7 separate regions of the Homo sapiens genome follow, and all the other regions are linked to region 5. Evidence: promoter capture Hi-C in 16 types of primary human blood cells and fetal thymus (Javierre and others, 2016). All regions are on one chromosome and are shown on one strand. Each heading gives the region's core, a stretch centred on a gene start or on the middle of the fragment in contact. The rest is flanking DNA. Distances are from core to core; before and after follow the strand shown.

The links. Contacts are between HindIII fragments. The CHiCAGO score rates a contact against its expected background, and 5 or more counts as called.
Region 1: a fragment that was not itself captured here is called in contact with the fragment with the promoter of UFM1 in region 5 in 1 of 17 cell types (naive CD8 T cells); the score reaches 6.4 in naive CD8 T cells.
Region 2: a contact is called between a fragment that was not itself captured here and the fragment with the promoter of UFM1 in region 5, in 1 of 17 cell types (total CD8 T cells). The highest score is 5.3, in total CD8 T cells.
Region 3: a contact is called between a fragment that was not itself captured here and the fragment with the promoter of UFM1 in region 5, in 4 of 17 cell types (naive CD4 T cells, total B cells, naive CD8 T cells and 1 more). The highest score is 8.3, in naive CD4 T cells.
Region 4: a fragment that was not itself captured here is called in contact with the fragment with the promoter of UFM1 in region 5 in 2 of 17 cell types (non-activated CD4 T cells and fetal thymus); the score reaches 9.9 in non-activated CD4 T cells.
Region 6: a contact is called between a fragment that was not itself captured here and the fragment with the promoter of UFM1 in region 5, in 8 of 17 cell types (naive CD4 T cells, total B cells, total CD8 T cells and 5 more). The highest score is 13.0, in naive CD4 T cells.
Region 7: a contact is called between a fragment that was not itself captured here and the fragment with the promoter of UFM1 in region 5, in 10 of 17 cell types (activated CD4 T cells, total B cells, total CD4 T cells and 7 more). The highest score is 12.5, in activated CD4 T cells.

The regions. Positions count from the first base shown.
Region 1 is chr13:36,964,144-36,967,126 of GRCh38, reverse strand. ALG5 (ALG5 dolichyl-phosphate beta-glucosyltransferase) reads left to right here. Exons shown (of 10, transcript NM_013338.5): 8 at 1,401-1,552. Among named protein-coding and RNA genes, the nearest start is that of ALG5, 34 kb to the left of the region's middle. The HindIII fragment of the contact is 4,137 bases long and covers 1-2,983 here.
Region 2 is chr13:39,682,438-39,685,291 of GRCh38, reverse strand. The region is part of intron 8 of COG6 (component of oligomeric golgi complex 6); the gene reads right to left. Among named protein-coding and RNA genes, the nearest start is that of MIR4305, 20 kb to the right of the region's middle. The HindIII fragment of the contact is 453 bases long and covers 1,362-1,814 here.
Region 3 is chr13:36,980,265-36,983,100 of GRCh38, reverse strand. The region is part of intron 6 of ALG5 (ALG5 dolichyl-phosphate beta-glucosyltransferase); the gene reads left to right. Among named protein-coding and RNA genes, the nearest start is that of ALG5, 18 kb to the left of the region's middle. The HindIII fragment of the contact is 2,080 bases long and covers 398-2,477 here.
Region 4 is chr13:36,833,094-36,836,118 of GRCh38, reverse strand. No RefSeq gene overlaps it. Among named protein-coding and RNA genes, the nearest start is that of RFXAP, 15 kb to the right of the region's middle. The HindIII fragment of the contact is 2,013 bases long and covers 737-2,749 here.
Region 5 is chr13:38,348,407-38,351,494 of GRCh38, reverse strand. It overlaps UFM1 (ubiquitin fold modifier 1), which reads right to left and starts at 1,644. Exons shown (of 6, transcript NM_016617.4): 1 at 1,574-1,644; 2 at 1,440-1,496. The coding sequence starts at 1,575. RefSeq lists silencers at 1,093-1,307, 2,005-2,114 and an enhancer at 1,685-1,894. The HindIII fragment of the contact is 2,541 bases long and covers 1-2,066 here.
Region 6 is chr13:37,011,265-37,014,153 of GRCh38, reverse strand. It overlaps SUPT20H (SPT20 homolog, SAGA complex component), which reads left to right. Exons shown (of 26, transcript NM_001014286.3): 24 at 1,857-1,962. Among named protein-coding and RNA genes, the nearest start is that of EXOSC8, 12 kb to the right of the region's middle. The HindIII fragment of the contact is 315 bases long and covers 1,259-1,573 here.
Region 7 is chr13:37,028,367-37,031,299 of GRCh38, reverse strand. It overlaps SUPT20H (SPT20 homolog, SAGA complex component), which reads left to right. Exons shown (of 26, transcript NM_001014286.3): 13 at 1,464-1,535. Among named protein-coding and RNA genes, the nearest start is that of EXOSC8, 29 kb to the right of the region's middle. The HindIII fragment of the contact is 1,651 bases long and covers 749-2,399 here.

The sequences.
Region 1 (2,983 bases), core at 458-2,957, 1.4 Mb after region 5:
CTCAGCCTCCTAAGTAGCTGGGACTACAGGCGTGTGCCACCATGCCTGGCTAATTTTTGTATTTTTAGTAGAGATGGGGTTTCGCCATGTTGGGCAGGCTGGTCTTGAACCCCTGACCTCAAGCAATCCACCTGCCTCGGCCTCCCAGAGTGCTGGGATTACAGGTGTGAGCCACCGCACCTCGCCTGATTTGGTGCTTTTTCTTTGTTACTCTGTTCCACTGTGGTTCTGTTTGGTGTTGATGGAAAAAGCCATGCAAAGGAAGAACGATACTAAAAATTATAATTTTGAAAAGCAAAAGCCAAAAGGAGGAAGGGACCTTTATCCCATAGTATGAGATATTAAATGTTCTAATAGACTCTTAATAGGTTGCTTATGTATGTAAGTAACGCATCATTACTTGAGTCTATTGCCTTAACTAAGGAACATTTTAAAAGATCGTGTCTTAAAGAAGCTGGGTATAGTGGCACACGCCTGTGATCCCAGCTGCTCTGTAGGTTGAGGCAGAAGGATCACTTGATCCCAGGAATTTGAGGCTGCAGTGAACCATGACCACACCACTGGACTCTAGCCTGGACAACAGAAGGCGTCTCTGTCTCTAAAAAAAATTTTGTTATTTTATTTTTTAGAAAGATCCTATCTTTTACTAAATCTTAAATGTGAAAGTCTGGAATCCAGTGATAATAATCTTATGTTCTTATGTTTTAAAATGTGCTATGTTTTATGAATAATGGAATATTCTGTTACTACTAATAAAATTAATCATCAGTAACAGTAGTGAAACTTCAGATGGGATTAAAACCTACTTAATCTTAATATCCAAAGTATTAAAGAACTCAATATTTTAAATGTATTTAATTAGATCTCTGGCATGCTTAGAAAGACCAGGTGTTTGTTTCAAACTCCTTTCTAGTCCATAACCTTCATGATACTCTGCTATACATCTTCTGTCAATATTCTCATTAGTTAAGTATCAACTGCAGGCTTATATCTGTGCTTTGTTTTGTCAATACATCCTGGAAACTGACAGCTTTTTTGAAACTGAAATACATGTGGGGCAAAGCAGCATAAAATATGTAAGTAAACAAGACGTTCTCCTTGCTCACAGCAGCAGCCCCAAACCTGTTTCTCCTGGTAGGCTAAAGCCCTGGCCGCTTGTCTGACTCAACCTCCAGGAAATGAGTAACTGCTTCCTAGTGCCTCTACTCTGCTCCAAGCAGTAGGCATTCTTGCTGTTTCTTTAATATACTTTGTTGGTGAAGCTCATGGAACAGTGGTGTTCTTATGTAAGATCTACCAGTCAATTAAATATTAAAATACAGTTGTCTACAGCCAGGTGTTTTCAGTGTCTCCTTTACAGATGAATGGAAAAGTCATTTATATTTTGTCTTTGTTTTCAGCGTTCTTACTTCCGTACTCTTCTCATGTATGGGTTCCACTTTCTGGTGTGGTTCCTTTGTGTCAAAGGAATCAGGGACACACAGTGTGGGTTCAAATTATTTACTCGAGAAGCAGCTTCACGGACGTTTTCATCTCTACACGTTGAACGATGGTAGGTTTCTGACTGGAATGTATCCAGTCTGTCTTATGACCCAGCCATCTTCTAGGTAATGAGAAACAGCCCTGTATATTTATAATGAACATGTAGATTTAAACAAAATTGACAATAATGTATGTAAACTTGATCTTGCCTTTATACTTTTCCTGAGTTGGATCTTATTTTGAAAATACACAAACCCAACAATATGGTATAAAGTTATGTGTGTTCACCTTAATTGTAGACAGTAGAAATTGAGTGGCCTGAAAACATTTTTTTTCCTTTGAAGAAAAAAGAAAAAGCTCAGAAACATCAAAACAGAATAGGGCACCCATTTTCTCTTTTCTTCCTTCTACGGAAGATAAGGTGTCTTTCCTAAGACCGATCTTTTGACCTCTACATCTCCTTCCACCTTGTCAAAACCTAATCCTGTCCATGTATTTCATCTCTTGTGTATTCAGCCTTTTCCCTTCCATCACATCTTTCCCAGAACCCTTTCCATTGACCCTGCTGTGCCCTTCCAGCTCTAGCCCTGTCTCCTTCACAAGCAACCTTCTCTTGAAAAAGTGTTTTATATTCACTGGCTTTGTTTTCTTGCTTCCCACTCACTCCTCACCCCACCTTCTTCATATGGATTTTCTTCCATGCCTCATCATTTTTTTTTTTTTTTGAGTTTCGCTCTTGTTGCCCAGGATGGAGTACAATGGCAGGATTTCAGCTCACTGCAACCTCCGCCTCCCGCGTTCAAGTGATTCTCCTGCCTCAGCCTCCCAAGTAGCTGGGATTACAGGTGGGCGCTACCACACCCAGCTAGTTTTTGTATTTTTAGTAGAGATGAGGTTTCACCATGTTGGCCAGGCTGGTCTTGAACTCCTGACCTCAGGTGATCCACCCAAAGTGCTGCGATTACAGACGTGAGCCACTGCACCCAGTCTACTTCATCTTAACATCTAGCCACCTCTATGTCATTGAAGCCAGTGGTCATGTTAAATGACCACTTGTCACACTTAACCCATCAGCAGCATTTGATACTCCTGAGCTCTCTTTTGAAATATACTGGAGATACAGGTGGCTAGCACTGTTGTACAGAAGCTGAAACCCTGACATCAGCCCTGACATTCTCCACATGCATATATCCAATCCATGACAGGGCCTGTTGATTTTAGCTTTTGTGTTCCTCCATTTCTCTCCATCTCTACCACCGCCATCCAGAACACCATCCTTCTCCATACTACCATGCTGTAGCCCACAAGGTCTTTGCAAACTTAAGTGTGATCAATCATATGCACCTCTTCTGCTTATATTCCTTCATGGGCTTCCCATGGTCTTTAGTCTGGCCCCACCTGTGTCTCCACATGCGGACTCTTTTCTTTTCTAACCACGCCCCTTCTCACCTTCTCCTTCAGATCTTCCTTAGGGTAGCCTGCCCTCACTCTCTAAAGATAA
Region 2 (2,854 bases), core at 339-2,838, 1.3 Mb before region 5:
CAAAATCAGACATTCTTCCAACAATAATCAAAAATCAAAATGGAGCTTTTTCAGAGTGAATGTTCAAATTATGTAAATATTCTCAAATACCTCAAGTTAAAATTAAAAGTCTCATTTTAAAAATTGTGTTTAGCTACAGTTAAAGAAATTCTGGTCAAAAAGCAAATTAAAAGAAGAAAAATTTTTATCAAAAAGCAAATTAAAAGATAATAGTAAAGAAGTGCCTCTTTGAAACACAACAAATACATAAAGAAGGAAGAAAAATCAGCATTGTATGTATTACTACATTTTAAAATAACTTATATTCTAAAGGCTTACCAAAGAAAATAAATTATCAAATTTTTTCACTTCATTTATAATTGTACATGATTTATTATTAAAAGTCAATAATGCATTAGCATTCCAGTTATACACCACATAAGAAACACTGAGTATGGCAACTTTCCCCACGGATTTCAATAATTGACATTTTTCTTGTATATAATACTTACATTATTTGAGACACAATAATGGACAGTGAAACTTTTATACATTACTTATTAAGTTCATATAGTGCCATCTGGTGGTTAACATGATACATTATTAAGTTTTCCCTAAATGTAAGGAAACTACCACTTTGAAAATAATTACTTAATGAAAGGCCAATTTTCTCTTTTTTAGCATTCATCTTGTTCTAATCATCTGGTCTTAAAAACTTACTTTCCTACTCAACTTCTAAATGTGTCTTAAAATCTTCCAAATTGGCCAGGCGCGGTGGCTCACGCCTGTAATCCCAGCACTTTGGGAGGCCGAGGCGGGTGGATCACGAGGTCAGGAGATCGAGACCATCCTGGCTAACACGGTGAAACCCCGTCTCTACTAAAAAATACAAAAAATTAGCCGGGCGAGGTGGCGGGCGCCTGTAGTCCCAGCTACTCGGGAGGCTGAGGCAGGAGAATGGCGTGAACCCCAGGGGGCGGAGCCTGCAGTGAGCCGAGATTGCGTCACTGCACTCCAGCCTGGGCGACAGCTAGACTCCGTCTCAAAAAAAAAAAAAAAAAAAAAAAAATCTTCCAAATTGCCATTACTGCCCCCTGCTTCTTAGCATATGCCCTTCACAGATAAACCTTCTTTGCCTATTATAGTTCCATTCTTTATCTTTCAAGCTTTTTCCCAGATTGCCATGTAGCCCTCAGATACATCCCTCCTTAGTTGAAAACTTTCTAGTCATCTCCTCTCAAAATAAAAATAATATCTAAAATTTAGTGATGTACCAAGCATTACACTAAGTGCCTTAAGTGAACAATCTAACTTAATCTTCACATCAACCCTGTAAAATAGGCACTATTATTATCCTCATTTTACAGCTAAGGAAACAAGCTTATAAAGGTACACGGACTTCTCAAAGAAATTTGACTCAAGAACCCACCTTATAGCCATTTAATATTGCTCCTTTCCAAGTTTTGATAAAGAACTATAACTCAGTGAAAATTTATTTGCATGGCAGAAGTCAGCTGTTGAAAACAAACAAAGGTGCCCAAAACACAGAAAGGCTTTTTTTTTTTAATACATAAAAGATTAACCTTGTGAATAAATATTAATCTGTAGACAATGCAACAGCTGTTAAAATCAAACGCCAAATGTTTTAAGTGCTAAAAGACTCATAATTAATGTCAATATGTTAAAGTGAAAAAGTTGGGAAAGAAATTTTAAAGCAGGAATAAACTGTTAAGCTGCTGATCAATGGTAAACATTAACTTATCTTATGTATATGCACAACATTCAGGGCTATTATGATCCAGCTGTTGCTCCTAATTCAATAGCCAGTGCAAGCTTTTACAATTAATTTCCCAAAGGTGCATTATCTCTCAATGTATATCTTTGCATTACTGTTCCCTCAACCTGCAAACTGTTCTTCCTTTACTTCTAGGAAAATGCCTATTCAGCCTTCAGAACTCACTTTATACCTAATTCCTTAGGAAACTTTCACTGATGCTCATCTCTTTCCCCTACACCAGAATACTTGAGCCACACAGCATCTGGCACATGACTTCTAGACTATCAATTAGTGTATTCAATTAAAATGCGTTTGTTTATCTCTGGTTCCATAAAATAAAGCAGTTTGAGGGCAGTGCTTTACTGACGTTGTGTTTCTAGAATTTAAAATGGTGCTTAACACATAGTACTCAGTAAGTAACACTGGGGTGTTATTATTTTACACAGCTGTTCAGCATTTGTGTTCTGTGACCTGATGATAGGATAAGTAGTGTTCCAATCAGAAAGTAATGGGGAGGTCCTCTAAAAATAGTATAAACAGATTCTGAAAGGGATGATTCAAAGCAGGATGCACTACCTTGGTAAGAGTCCCCTCGTTTCCTGTTTTCAGAATTATTAATATCATCAACCCCTACATCTACCTAAAGCTTATGCTAATACTACTCCAGGCATTAAAGAAAGTATTTACCTTTTATTTTATAAAAATTAAAAGAATAAAATTAAAATATAAAATAATAAAAAACATATCAACAAATACAAAATGCATTAAATTCTTATCCAAAACATTACCACATAGCTCTTGTTTGGCATCAATTACAGGATCAAAGACCTGGGCCCTCTCCTCCTAAATCCTATTAACAGATTACCTTGATATTAAATATTCTTTTTTCATCTCTGCATAACCATATTTCTCAGTACTGATATGACTTCAGTCTCTGTAGGGAAGTATTCATACAGGAGTTTTAGTTACTTACAATTCTAAGGGAGTTAATGAGACGACAGGGGAAAAGTCACTGAACCTCTATATAAGTAAGAGGTAGTCTAGATACAGAGACACTTTGGTTTCTCTTTCCATATTGTATTCTATAGTATGTAAAAT
Region 3 (2,836 bases), core at 188-2,687, 1.4 Mb after region 5:
AATAAAACAAAAATCTGAACTTTATTCTTATAAATCTAGTTCCTTTATACTACTCTGTAAAGAAAAGGAGTTCTGATGCCATATTTTTTCCTTATCATAATCCCATTTACTACACTGTTACTAGAAATGTTAAGTTTTAAAGAATTAAAGCATGTGATTATCATTAAGCTATTAATTCGTAGCCTTGGTTTTACAGCACCTTAAAGTATCCCTAATTATTTAAGTGTCCCAGCTCAATTGAATTAATTTGAATTAAATTTAGTAAGTTTTATTAATATGCATCATGTAATACTCTTTGCAGGAGGTGGAAAGGAGGCAAATAAATGATAGGTGGTTAAAGTTACAAAATTCATAGTTTTTGGATCCACCCAGTGAAAAATATGGTTCTGACAAAGCTTATAAACAGCCAGTCATTGCTCTCAGAAAACTTACATTCTGAAGTTGACATGCATAGAGAAATTAGAAGAAATCTTCTTACTTATGTAATTCAGGTGTTAGAGAACTTTTTCTGTAAAGGACCATATAGTAAATATTTCAGCTTTAAAGCCAGTCAGCCTCTGTGGCAGCTGCTCAACGCTCTATTGTAGCATGAAAGTAGACATAGATAAAATACATCCTTTATTTACACAAATAAGCAGCAGATCAGATTTGGGCTACAGGCTATAGTTTGCTGACTCTTAAATCTAATTTAATCATTTATCCAATATTGGAAAGTTTTTACAACTACCTAGTGATCTTTCAGCCTCTACTGCATAGCTCTAGTGATGCTTAAGCAGCTCATTCTGTCTCAGCTCAGCTGTGAAGTTCCTCTAGACACCAAATGCAAATATGTCTCCTTTTAATCACCCCCTTCCATTGTTTCTGTCTTCTGTAGCTACACAAAATTATCTACTCCACTTCTTTGTGACAGCCCTTCAGAGAGTCAAAGCTGTTTTCCATGTGTATTCTCTGTTTTAGGCTGTCAGTTCTTACGGTTTTTGTTGTTGTTGTTTGTTTGTTTGTTTGTTTTTGAGACAGAGTCTCGCTTTGTCATCCAGGCTGGAGTGCAGTGGCGCAATCTCAGCTTACTGCAAGCTCCGCCTCCCGGGTTCACACCATTCTCCTGCCTCAGCCTCCCCAGTAGCTGGGACTACAGGCGCCTGCCACCATGCCCGGCTAATTTTTTTTTGTATTTTTAGTAGAGACAGGGTTTCACCGTGTTAGCCAGGATGGTCTCTATCTCCTGACTTCGTGATCCACCAGCCACGGCCTCCCAAAAGTGCTGGGATTACAGGCATGAACCACTGCGCCTGGCCCAGTTCTTACAGTTTTTAAACATAGCATATTTTTTTCTTATAATTTTCCACTGAAGATGTGTCTGTTCGTGTGGATTTGGTTTCCACATTACATTGTTACTTCGTACAGGTATTGCCAACTCTTTTTCCTGTTCATTGCCTTTGAACTTTGTCTCTCCATCTCTATACTGGTGTGGATTTCTTTCTGTGTTCTTTTGCTTTGTTTTCAGGAATGGAATTGTGGCTAGTTATCTCAACTTCAACTTGTTAGATTTCTGTGTCTAAAAGTGTAGGTTCTTGTTCTATCTTAGGGCAATAGCTGTTTTCTCAATTCATTTAAGCCACAAATTTGATAAGCATGCCTTGCATGTATTTCCCTAAGCCCTAATAAAAATAGCGACTGAAATAGTTCAGAAAATAATGAAACAGGAACGTGGGTTTTGTAGTCAAGTCCTATAATTACGTGACTGTCTCACTAGATGGCAGTCATTAGCTTAAATATCTTTTACAATATTGCTTTGACCATTTAAGTCATTTCTTTAGTACGTTTTACAGTGGTTTCTAATGTCTTCTTTCTTAGCTGATTTTTTTTTAATGACTACAAAAAGAAATTTATTACTACTTGCTTGTATTTCCTCTTAGAGTAACCAGGTTACATGTTCTGGTTCTGATGATTCTTATACAAAGTCATCTTACAAAAGTTGCCTACAATTTCTTTTCTGATAATAAGTGCTCCTGTAAGGTTTTAAACTACATGTATATAATTTAAGTAGAGCTTTGTATAATACATACAAATAAAATAGGGCATTTACATTTTCATACTAAAAATTTTATTTTATTTTATTTTATTTTTGAGACAGGGTCTCCCTGTGTCACCTGGGTTGGAGTGCAGTGGCTCAATCTCAGCTCACTGCAACCTCTGCCTCTTGGGCTTAAGCGATTCTCGTGCCTCAGCCTCCCGAGTAGCTGGAATTACAGGCACGCACCACCACGCCAGGCTATTTTTTGTGTTTTTTGGTAGAGATGGGGTTTCACTGTGTTGGCCAGGCTGGTCTCAAACTCCTGGCCTCAAGTGATCTGCCTGCCTCGGCCTCCCAAATTGTGGGGATTAGGAGCATGGGCCACCACGCTCAGCCAAAACTTTCATTTATATTTTACTTGTATTTTCTTTTCCCACATCTTTGTTTTTTAATATGCAAAGCTTTCCTCTCAGATTTTCAGTTTCCTAACTGGTAGTTAGTCTACCTCTTTTTAAAAATATGCTTGTTTTTTAGTAATTTTTCTAAGCAAAGTATATGCTGGCCAGGCACAGTGGCTCACATCTGTAATCCCAGCGCTTTGAGAGGCCATGGTGGGAGGATCGTTTGAGGCCAGGAGTATGAGACCAGCCTGGCCAACATAGCGAAATCCCGTCTCTACTAAAAATTAGCCAGGTGTCGTAGCGCACACCTGTAAGCCCAGCTACTCGGGAAGCTGAGGCATGAGAATCACTAGAACCTGGGAGGCAGAGGTTGCAGTGAGTCGGGACTGCGCCACTGCACTCCACCTTGGTCAACAGAGAG
Region 4 (3,025 bases), core at 494-2,993, 1.5 Mb after region 5:
TGCTTATGGAATACATCTTAAGGCAGGCTACATCCTTTTCTGCTACGAGGGTAAAGCTCTGAAGAGGAAAGATTTATTTTGCTGCAGTAGATGATTTTTTAGAAAGTTCATCTCCAATGCTTTAGAATAATCCAAACAACTATTTGGAGGATGGAGTACTACACGTTAGGCGTAATGGGGGAAACAGCTCATCTTTTGATTAAAAGGTGAGATCAACTCACCTAATTATTAAACATGTCAATTATTTTCATTAAAATGTTTTAAAAACAACTGTTAACTTCAAACTCAATAAAAGCAGTATTTAAATCAGATTTTTTTTTTTCTATAGTGAGGCAAGTCTGCTAGATAAACGGTAGTTCAGCCCATTTTCAAATAAACTGCTATCTGCACACAGGTCCTAATCTATGTACCTTCAACAGTATCTGTGGTCATGAGTATAATATTCATTTTTCTAGCTAAGGAAGTGAGAAACTAAAGACAGTTAGAAACTGAGGGTGTAATAATGATTTTCAAAAAATTCTAAAATTTCCATTTCAATGAGTTACACAAAAGCAATTAGAGCTATTTGACAATATTCATATTAATTATATTTTCTAATTCTAGAAAAAGAAATGGGACATTATAAATCAGTAATCGTTTGAAAGATTCCAACTTGAGACTTTTTAAACCAAGACTAGAAACCAAGAAGCCATAAAAGAAATGTCAGACATATTGAAATACACATGAAGTAAAAGCTTCTATGGCAAACGATACCATAAAAAAGTAAACAAACACATTTTAGATTTGGAAAAAAACAGGATAGAAGTGACAAAGGGTTAAATTTCATGATATTAATCAGACTTTTTACACCCTGAGCTAGAAAAAGGAAGCCTAACAGAAAATAAGCAAAAGATATGACTAAGCAATTCACAGAACAGCAAATCAAAATAAACAGCAAGCATATGAAAAGATACTTTAGGCTGGGCACAGTGGCTCACACCTGTAGTACCAGCATTTTGGGAAGCTGAGTTGGGCAAATTGCTTGAGCCCAGGAGTTTGGGACCAACCTGGGCAACATGGCAAAAACTCATCTCTACACAAAATATAAAAATTACCCAGGAGTGGTGGTATGCACCTGTGGTCCCAGGTACTCAGGAGGCTGAGGTAGGAGAATCTCTCGAGCCCAGGAGGTTGAGGTTGCAGCGAGCTGAGACTGCACTACTGCGCTGTAGCCTGGGCAACAGAGTGAGACCCCATCTCAAAAAAAAAAAAAGAACAAGAAAAGAAAAGATGCTTTAATTTACCAGTATTCCAGGAAACGCTAATAAACGTAATAATACTGGCAAAGATGGGAGGGAAATTAATTCTTTTTCATTTGCTGGTAAACATGTTAAGTGTTACAGATTTCCTGGGGAAAGGAATATAACAACATCTATTTAAAGGAAACATGTAGCCCTATACTCAGCAATCCCACTTCTGGAAGTCAATCCCGAGGCCATAAAACCACCAATATATACCGCTATATAAGGACACATTACAAGGATGTCTGCTGCAGCACTGTTCATAGTGGTAGAAAATGACACCAAGTGAATGCCTATCAACAATGGAATAGTTGAATAAATGATGATGCATTCATATCATGAGATACTCTGCAGTCATCTAAAGGAATGACTTAGAGCTATACAAGTGACTCAGAGGGACTTCTACACAGTACTGCATAAAAAAGCAATATACTGACAGCGTGTATAATATGCCCACACTTTTATGTAACAATGACAATTCTAAATGTATATATGTGTTCATATATAATTATACAAACATGAAAAAAACAGACTACATACTGGGTAGTTGACAAAGGTTACCTGGAAGTCGGGTGGTGCATGGAAGACAGAGGGTAAGAAAATTTTAAAAAGGAACAGAAGGGGGTAAAAAGTTAAACAAAAACCTCTCAGTATATACAATACGATTATTAATGTATTTATATAAAATTGTATGTGTATGCATACAGAAAGTTTCATTTAAAAAAATTTAATTACTTAGCATTTATTGAAGGGCCTACTGTGTTAGAATAGGCACTTGCAGTCGGGCGCAGTGGCTCACACCTGTAATCCCAGCACCTTAGGAGGCCAAAGTAGTCAGATCATTTGAGGTCAGGAGTTCAAGACCAGCCTGGCCAACATGGTGAAACTCTGTCTTGGCTAAAAATACAAAATTAGCCAGGCGTGGTGGTGCATGCCTGTAATTCCAGCTACGCGGGAGGTGGAGGCAGGAGAATCGCTTGAACCCGGGAGGCAGAGGTTGCAGTGAGCTGAGATCGTGCCACTGCACTCCAGCCTGGGCGACAGTGAAACTCCATCTCAAGAAAAAATAAACTAAGCACTTGAAAGTGTTAGTTTTTACTTTAGCGACAACATACTAATCTGGAAAAAGCATCATTTCTGGAGACAATTTTAGGTTCAAATCTTGGCTCTGGCTCTAACAATATGACCTGTTTATACGTCACTTTAACTTCTCTGAGTTGCTTTCCTCATGTCAAAACAAGGACAATACTACTTGCCCTGCAATGTTTTGAGGTTCAAATAAATTAGCACAAATGAAAATACTTCCTAAAATAATATAATTAAGGTTAACATAAAATCTGTCTTTTAACACATTCCAAAAATCAAGGCTTAATTTGTGCAAAGGCTTTATTCTTATGGCCCCATGATGGTGCATCCACTGCCGAAATGCAAGGGGCGTGTCCAGATTGCACTGGCCCGTGACGAAAGCTTCCAACATTGTGCAGTAAGTCATTTGGAATCAGAGGGCCTGGATTTAAGTCCAATAGCTGTGCAGTCTTGAGCAAGTAATTTAACCTTGAAAAGTCTGCTTCTGTGTTTATAAACTAATAATTGTGCATGCATTACGGGATTGTTGTGGAGAGCAAGCAAATATGCATAATTGTTTTGAAAACTATAAAGTGCTAGAAAATTGGCAGATTTTGTCATATTGTTTTTAGATTATACTTTCTTGGTGTATCTCCAGCAGGGAAGTATATATTTTGGAC
Region 5 (3,088 bases), core at 395-2,894:
GTAGTGGTAGGTTTACATTGGTGTAAAGATGATAGAATTTCCCTCTGATGGCTTGATAGCAAGGGAGACAGCAGCTGTGGAAAGTTTGAAATTTTTAAACAATCTTTTCTGAGAATAAGGAGGAAAATGAGCAAACTTGAAGAATGTATTAAGTACTAGGTACTATTAATTGTAGTCATGAATTTAATGTAAACCCTCCAGTCTGTTATTTTCTCCAGGGGCAGTCAGCTATGTACAGATAATACAAACAGCTGGTTTCAGAGTTGGTGTTTCACTAACCAAAATATGCTGAGAGGAGAGACAGGGCCACCAGAGTTGAGGGTGTTTGCATGAGAATGATTTAAAGGTGGACCAATGGACTCTTAACTATATAAGGAGTAAGGTAAGGAATAGAAGTGGGGATAGCTACAGATAAAAAATCACTGTGATTAATGGATTAAATGAAACGTTGTAGATGAGAAATTATAGTAAATCATGTAGGAGAGAATGTATTTATCCATAAGAGTGCCTGTAAACGACATCTCAGAGATGGAGCAATTATTGGAATCTTAAGGTTCTAGGCTGCAACCATGAACACCTGAGATAAAGTGTAACAGGGATATTTTGGAGATGAAAAGATCAAGGGAGGAAAAGGCTGAGAGGTTGTACGGATCATGGATTGGTAAATCATTGAAATTTATCAGTCAGCTAGGTAGGCCAAGGTACTAATTAATTATGCAAAAAATTCTATTGTAATCCTGTTCTTTGCTACATTTCATGCTACTTCCAACTGCAATAACCTCAAGAGTGTTTACTTAAAATCTATCACTCAACTGCGAAGGATAAGTAAAGGCCCCACATGGATAAACTATCCCCTATCTGCATTTCCCATTCCTACCAAATACTCTATTAAATCCCAGCATAGGAAGGGTGTGATCTGAGTCTCATTACTTTGTGATGCCCGACTGCTGAGTTACTCATACACAACGAAACTCAGAAGCCGCGGAATAACAAATGTTCAAGTAATTTCAAAGTCTTGACTATCAAGATGGAATGTCTTCCTTAACTTCCTCAACCAGCTGGCCAAAGCGGTGAAACGCTTTTCTAATATCCAGCAGATGGGGACTGTTTAAGAATCCCAACAAATTACCAGAACCTGGTCCACCTGTCCTCCCGCGCCACCTGCCCACCAAATGAATTCCGAGGGGAGGTCACTAATCAGAAACACACCCACACCCTCGTGACGGGGCCAAGCTGCCAAGCTGACACTTAGCGAGCAAGTACGGACCTCTCCTCGCAGGCTCCGGTGGGAAAGGCTCCTGGAAGGGCGCGAGCCAGGAAAGTAGATGAAGTGAAGAGATGAAGACTGCGTGGGGTAGTTGTTGGAAAAGCTCGGATCATCCCCAACCCAGCCCCGTCTTGTCCGGCCCCAAAAGGCCCATCTCGGCCGAGCTACTCACACTTTGTACGGCAGCCGTGGGTCCGACGTCAGCGTGATCTTAAAGGAAACCTTCGACCTGAGGAAAAGAGCGGGAGAGAGTCAGGGTCGGGCAGCTGGACCAGGAATTATGGCAGTCGGTAAGCAAACACTTACATGGTGGTGCCGGAATGAATCCAGAACACACGACAACTCCGCGGGGGTAGCACGACTTCCTCTAGTGTGCTGGGGACCGCCCCGCTCCACTCACGTCCACGTCTCCCTCTGCAATCTGGGGACCTCCGAAGTTGTTGCTATCCAACGCACTGCCTGAAAATTGGCCCTAAGAGCTCATGCTAGATGGCGCTTTTAAATTACAAATATCTTGTGCTTTTGCGTTTATATATCTAAGAAAAAAGTATGGATTATATTTATAAGATATCTTTCTAACTTTGGTAATTTGCTACCATATTTTTAGTCAGGCAGAATAAGCGTGGGCATAGAGCGTAGGACCCTAGGTTCCAGTTGGCAGGTTGGGGCGGAAGTAAGGGTATGGGGTAGTCGGATGAAGAGCGAGATGGACTTGGGGCGAAGCTCGGGGCGAGGCCGGGGGCGGGGCTGGGGCGGACGCGCTCTAAAGTTTCTAAGGCAACCTGAGCGCGGAAAAGCTTAATTGGTGCTCCAGAAGCAGGAATTGTAACACTGCTTTATCATTAGTTTTCTTCCGTCTTTCCAGCAAACCAATCCTGTTATATCCTTTACATTTCTCATAGTTTCTCCTTCACGCTTTACTTTCCGATACTGATTTATAACTATTGAATTTCGGTTAAGTAAGAGAGCTATCAAGTACGAATTATCTATGCCAAGACTCCCGCTGGGGTGGGTGAGAAAAAATGAGGTTTCTACGTTTGGGGAACGTGGCGTCTAGTTGGGAAGACACATCTATGAACAGGAGATTTCAGTAATTTGTTATATGGTCTAATTAAACCAGTGCGCTGAGTTGCTAATCACTGACCACATTTATTCAATTTAACAACCAACTTTGAACCCTTTCTATTTGCCCGGCGCTAAGCTAAACTCTGGGGAATCCAAGATGAGTAAGGCAGGTAGGCGTCAACTCTCTAGGATCTAACATCCTGTGTAGTGATGACGGAAGAAAATTGTCCTCTAAACTTTATTACAGATCTAAACCTCTGTGTTTGGAAAATATGCGTCTGTCTCACAATGACTGAAATGCCCTTTTAAAACATTAGCATGAATAGACAAAGGAGGAAGCAGGTAGGCATTAAAATAATGGGGCAATCTAGTTGATCTTTAGAATATGCATCAGATTCTTAAGGAGAGATACTTAAGAGAGGAACCAGGAAGGAACTGTAGTAGGGATAATGGAGATCAAATTCATCTTTACAATAATTTTGCAGCCAACTGATCTTCTATGGTGACATTTCCCAGTGGAGAGAGTTCTGGTTCTGAGTAGGCAAGTAAGACTCCAACATTCTCATGACAGCCATCCTCACTTTTTAAAATAATGGTCTTACCATATATGTAGATGAAGCCAAATATTGATTGACAGATACAGGGATCAACAGTTACAGCCTTAATAGCTGAAACTATTCAATTAGTGGGTGTGACTAAAACTTGTGAGAATAGTAATAAGGATAAAACTGTGATTGTGTCTACCTATTGTCAGCT
Region 6 (2,889 bases), core at 167-2,666, 1.3 Mb after region 5:
CTTGTTTCTTTCTTTTGATTAACGTTAGCTTAGTACGTCTTTTTTCATCCTTTTAGTTTTAGCCTGAGTCCTTTTATTTCTTAGTATTTGTTTTCTTCTTCAAGATGTTTGTTTAATCATTATTCCTCCTTGTTTGAATATTCCATTTGTGGTGGTGGCTTATAGTCTACATTAGGTTTGTGGAGTGCTTTGGGGGGAAATTGATATCACCTGTAGTTTTTTTGCATTTTGAGTTTTTTTGTTTGTTTTATCATAGCTCCGTTATGGTGGTGATGTGGTCTGCCTTATTCTGTTGTTCATTTCATGAACTGGGTTCCAAATTCAATAATGTGTCCTCCTTTCAGCTCTGTGCTCTTTTGTCCAATCTTTTATATCCAGGGAGATCCCCTCAAGATAAATGTAACTTTTGAAATGTTTGGCTTGCAATTATATACTGAAATGTTACTTCAGACACTATTTTAGGTGGTACCAAAGGATGTCTTTTGCAGAGCAAAAGTTTTTAATTTTGCTGAAGTCCAAGTTAACAGTATCTTTTCTTTATGGAATATCCTCTAGTTTTCATGTCTCGGAACTCTTTACCTAGCTCTAGGTCCCAAAGATTTTCTCCTGTGTTTTTTTTCTAACAGTTTTATAGTTTCTTATTTTGAATCCATGATCCATTTTCAGTTAATTTTTGTACAAGATGTGCAACTTAGGTCCGTGTTTTGTTTTTGTTTGTTTTTGTTTTCCTATCAGTATCCAATTGTTTCAATACCATTTGTTGAAAAAAAAGAAAACAACAACAAAGAAAAAAAACAGCTATTCTTTCTGAATTGAATTACTTCTGCACATTTGTTAAAAGTCAGTTGGGTCTATTTGAGTGGGTCTATTTCTAGGTTCCCTGTTCTGTTTCATTAATCTATGTGTCTCTCCTTCAGCCAATACCACACTGTCTTGTTCATTGTAGTGTCTTAAAATTGGGCAGTGTTTTCTCCCATACCATTTTTCAAAATTGTTGTAGCTAATGTAGGTTCTCTACCTTTCCATATACATTTTAAAGTCATCTTGTCTATATCTACAAAAACCTTGCCAGCATTTCTAAAAGAATTGAGTTAAACTTGTTGATCAGTTTGGGGGAAGAACTGCCATCTTTATGATGTGAGTCTTCCAGTACATGAACATAGTATATGTCCTTATCTAGACCAAAGTCAATGTTTTGTAGTTTTTGGTATACAAGCCCTGTATATGTTTTCTTAGACTTAAGATTAATACCTAAGCTTTTCTCTTTTTTTTTGAGTAATTGTGAATGGTATTTTTTTTATTTCAGTTTTCACATGTTCATTACTAGTATATATAGTGTTGATTTTTGTATATTGGTCTTGTTTTGTGCCCTCTTACTGGACTTACTACTTCTAGGAGCTGTTTTGGAGATTGCTTAGGGTTTTCTACCATATAGACAGTTGTGCCATTTGAAAATAAGGACAATTTTATTTTTTCCTATAAAATCTATATACCTTTTATTTCCTTTTCTTGACTTAGTCTGCTGACTAAAAGTTCCAGCACTATGTTTATGTTACAAAGGGTGTTTTAAGCTTTAAAAAATTGTTTCAGTGAAGCTTTATAAAAGCCTTAGGCGTTATCTAGGTAGCATTAAACAATAAATACAGATGCACTGAAAAATGAAGTTTTCTTTGTTCAAATACCATAAATTTATTCTTGCTTATTCTAAATACCTTTGAAGTATTTTCCTTGTTATTCTTTTTACAAGACTAGTCTAATACTGCTTTCTTTCATATAGGAAAAAATACTGATTTCTTTTCACCAGCTCAAATTTGTTTTTCTTTCTTGTACAAGTCATTTATTATTTTTTTATTCAGGGTTCTGAGCAAGGTTCAACCAGTCAAGAACAGGCCTTATCTGCTCAGCAAGCTGCTGTTATTAACCTTACTGGAGTAGGAAGTTTTATGCAGTCACAGGCAGCTGGTAGGTATCTTCATAACTTTATATGCTGAATTTACTAAACATATCTAATCTATTTGGGATCTCACCGCTTAAATTATTTTCTTTTCCTTCCCTTGCAACCAGTAAACAGGAAAAAGTAAAGCTATAATGTGTAAACTATTAAATTGATTGATGGCTGAGATTTTTTTTCATTGATAGTGGATTAAGAGCTTTGACTTAACATAATTACCACAGTTGTGTTTCCTTGTTACAGTTTACTGGCAAAATAATTATCCACTTTACTAGGTTACCAGAGCTGTTTTCAGTGTTTGCCAATAGTTATCTTAATTAATAACTTTTTTGTTTTCCTGGGTTAAGACTGAATTTTTCTAGATTGCATAATCTTTTGTCTCGTTCTGGTAACTTGTAGTTGCATAAATGACTTAAGTCTTAATGGTCAATAGCATAACTTCTGTAAGTCACTTTTATCATTTAAAAAAAAAGATTAAATTACTTCTCAACACTTCCAGCAGTAAATGGTGAACTAAAGATTACTCTTAATGATTATCCTGTCAGTTGAAGACGATAATTCTAACTTCCTGTCAGTTGAAGACGATAATTCTAACTTCCTGTCAGTTGAAGACGATAATTCTAACTTCACACTTAATTAAAAGAGTAAGCCATATGTATAAGAAAACTATGATAGGAGTTTGAGGATTGAATGAGTGACTGTGTTGTCAGCATCTTATCACTGTGGGCTTACTATGATGCCTTTAGAAGTCTTTTAGAATGATAATCTTTATTTTGGAAGTCAGTTATCCTTACATATAAAGTTCCAATTTAGAGGTAGTGAATTTCCAAATAGAAGTTTATATAATCATATACCTTTATCAGACCAATTGTGAATTTCCGAAAATAGCTGTAGTATAATTTAGTGGAAACAACTCTAGTCTGAAAAAAATCATGAGA
Region 7 (2,933 bases), core at 325-2,824, 1.3 Mb after region 5:
CAATTTTAAAATTGGAAAAATACAGTGTATATTACATAATCACGTGAAATCTCTCTTTTTTTGATAATATTTCATCAAAATTTCCTAATAGTGCTTGTTTACTCAAACTGGTTAAATTTGAAGATTAATAATATTATTTGACATAAAATAAAATAAAGATTAATAATACTAGAGAAGTAACCAAGATTAGGAACATTGGGTTGTATTCTTTATTGATCCATAATATACATGAACTATAAATGGTTGAAGACAAAAAAGGGATATTTTGATGAGTGATCCTATGTTTTTCTTTCTCCTCTGTTGTTTTTTATATTCACTCAACTCTTTATTTTCAGATTTGTTCTTCTGTTGCACCCTTTCCATGCTAGCACATGCATTATTCTTACTATTTCTGATTTAAAAAAAAGAAATTACGCAAAGCACAAAGCCAGAAGCAGCAGTAGACTGTATATACAGCTCAAGGAAGTAAGCCATATTATCTTTTGGTAGCTTATGTGCAGTTCTTCAAGGAACATGGCCTGATAATAGAATTTCAGTGTAAATACTGAAGGGTGGAATTTAGCTTTGGAGGACAAGCTGGAGTACTTCCCAAACTTTAATGTCCTTACGAATCAGCTGGAGAGCTTGTTAAATTGTAGGTTGCTACTCAGCAAGTCTGAGGTGCTAAGATGCATTTCTCACAAGCTCCTAGGTTATGTGATGCTGGGGTCCATGGACCACACATTGAGTAGCAGTTGCCCTCAAAGCTTCTCAGTCTAGCTCAATCAGAAGAATCACCTAGGATATCAGTTAAACATAGAGATTTCAAGCCCTACTCAAAATCTACTTACTTAGGATTTCTAAGGGACAGACATGAAAATCTGTATTTTTAATAGGTGCTCCAGGTAAGTCTAAATTACTCTTAAGATCGTGGTTGCCTGTAAGATAATAACATTTGACTCACACAGATGCCTAGGACATGTACAGAATATATGGTCAAGTCTGACTAGAAAGTGGAAAACGTTCAAAAAATTTGATCAGCTTTAATATTTTACCTTCCCTAGTCTCCCTCAGTTTTGTCCCCACTGTTACATGACCGCTTTTATTTCAAGAAAAGCCTGCCAAAAGGAAAAGATCTTTATCCTTATCTCTCTGACATTCCAATTTTCCTGAAGGAAAAGCTCTAAAGGAAAAACATATCAGCTTATGGACAAAAAAATGAAGAGGCACTGTCTAGAAAAGCAGCTGTGTTTATTAACACTTATTTATTTGGTTTGGTTTTATTAAAGTTGTTTTATACACATCAGAAGACTTTTAAACTGCTTAAGCATAAGTAGTTGATACCGGTAATTTAAGAATTCTTGCGCTAACAAGTATATTGTATTGTCGAGTTACTTAGTTTCTTCTCTTTGATCAGAATACTGATTCCATTTTATCTGATATGGATTCTATTTTATGTGGTATTTCTTGATTTGATTGTTTAGGTGGAGAAATATGCTAAAGTGGAAAAGTCTATCAAATCTGATGACTCACAGCCAACAGTCTGGCCAGCCCATGTAAGAAATCATTGCCTGTCTCTGTTTCTAATTATGCCATTTCTAATCTGGCCTCTGAATTTATTAAACATAAAGTGCAATTGCCATTAGTTTGGGACCTTTTTTCTTTTTTAAATTAGTTTCTGCGAGTTCAGTTTATTACAAGAAGAAACAACTATTTTGTTTATCAGAGTATGCTTTGCATTTTAAACAGCAATTTTTTATTTTTATTTTTTATTTTTATTTTATTTTAATTTTTTGAGATGGAGTTTGGCTCTTATCGCCCAGGCTGGAGGTGGGATCTTGGCTCACTGCAACCTCTTCCACTTCCCAGGTCCAAGCAATTCTCCTGCCTCAGCCTCCTGAGTAGCTAGGATTACAGGCACCTGCCACCACACCTGGCTAATTTTTGTATTTTTAGTAGAGACAGGGTTTCGCCATGTTGGCCAGGCTGGTCTCGAACTCCCGATCTCAGGTGATCCGCCCACCTTGGCCTCCCAAAGTACTGGGATTACAGGCATGAGCCACTGCGCCCAGCCTTAAAGAGCAATTTTAATGAAGAACTTCATTTTTACTTTTGGTTTGCGTATTGGTAGTTCTGATTTGTTTTGTTTCTAATTAATAAATTCTTCTAAGGCTGGCTTTTAACAGAAGTGTTCTTTATAAGTTTTCCTAATTGCAATAATAACGTCTTAAAAAGAGAGGAATAGGTGTAATATTTAAATTAGGTGAACTCTGGGAGTGAAATGATGACAGATGTTTTTTGTGTGTGATAGCAAAAGCAGACAAATGATAAATAGATCTGCTTTTGAAAGTTTTATCCTTTTAATATTATTTAATATTTGCAATTCATATATCTAGTATGAAATTCTGCCATATTAAGCTTGATTAAACATGCCATTTAAACTCTCATTCCCAGAGTACCATGTAAAAAAGAATCCTGTACTGCCCTCCTGAGCATAAACAGGCACGGCAGCATGAGGATCAGGGGTGCAAGCTTAGGGACAGACTGCTAACTCCCTGTGTGACCCTAGGCAATTCATTTAACCTCTCTTTGCTTAATTCCCTGACTTCTAATACGGAGGTAATAACAGTGCCAACCATGAAAATATGGTGGAGCTTTCAGTCCCTGTAGAGTGCTGAGAACAGTGTTTGATTAATGTTCATTGTTATTATATGTATATCAATATGTCTAATAATGTATTTAATGATGTATTAATATTGTTACATATGTGTTCATACTTCATAGTATATGTTAATGCTTTACTAAATGCATGCTGAGTGCCCATATAGTTTTTAGGAAAAGAACCGTGCTGTGCTTTATTCTCATAGGCAGACTTAAATATCTTTGTAGCCTAAGTGCTGTGTGTCTTCCTATCGTCAGATACATGTTACTGTATCATTTATTCCTGATTTTTA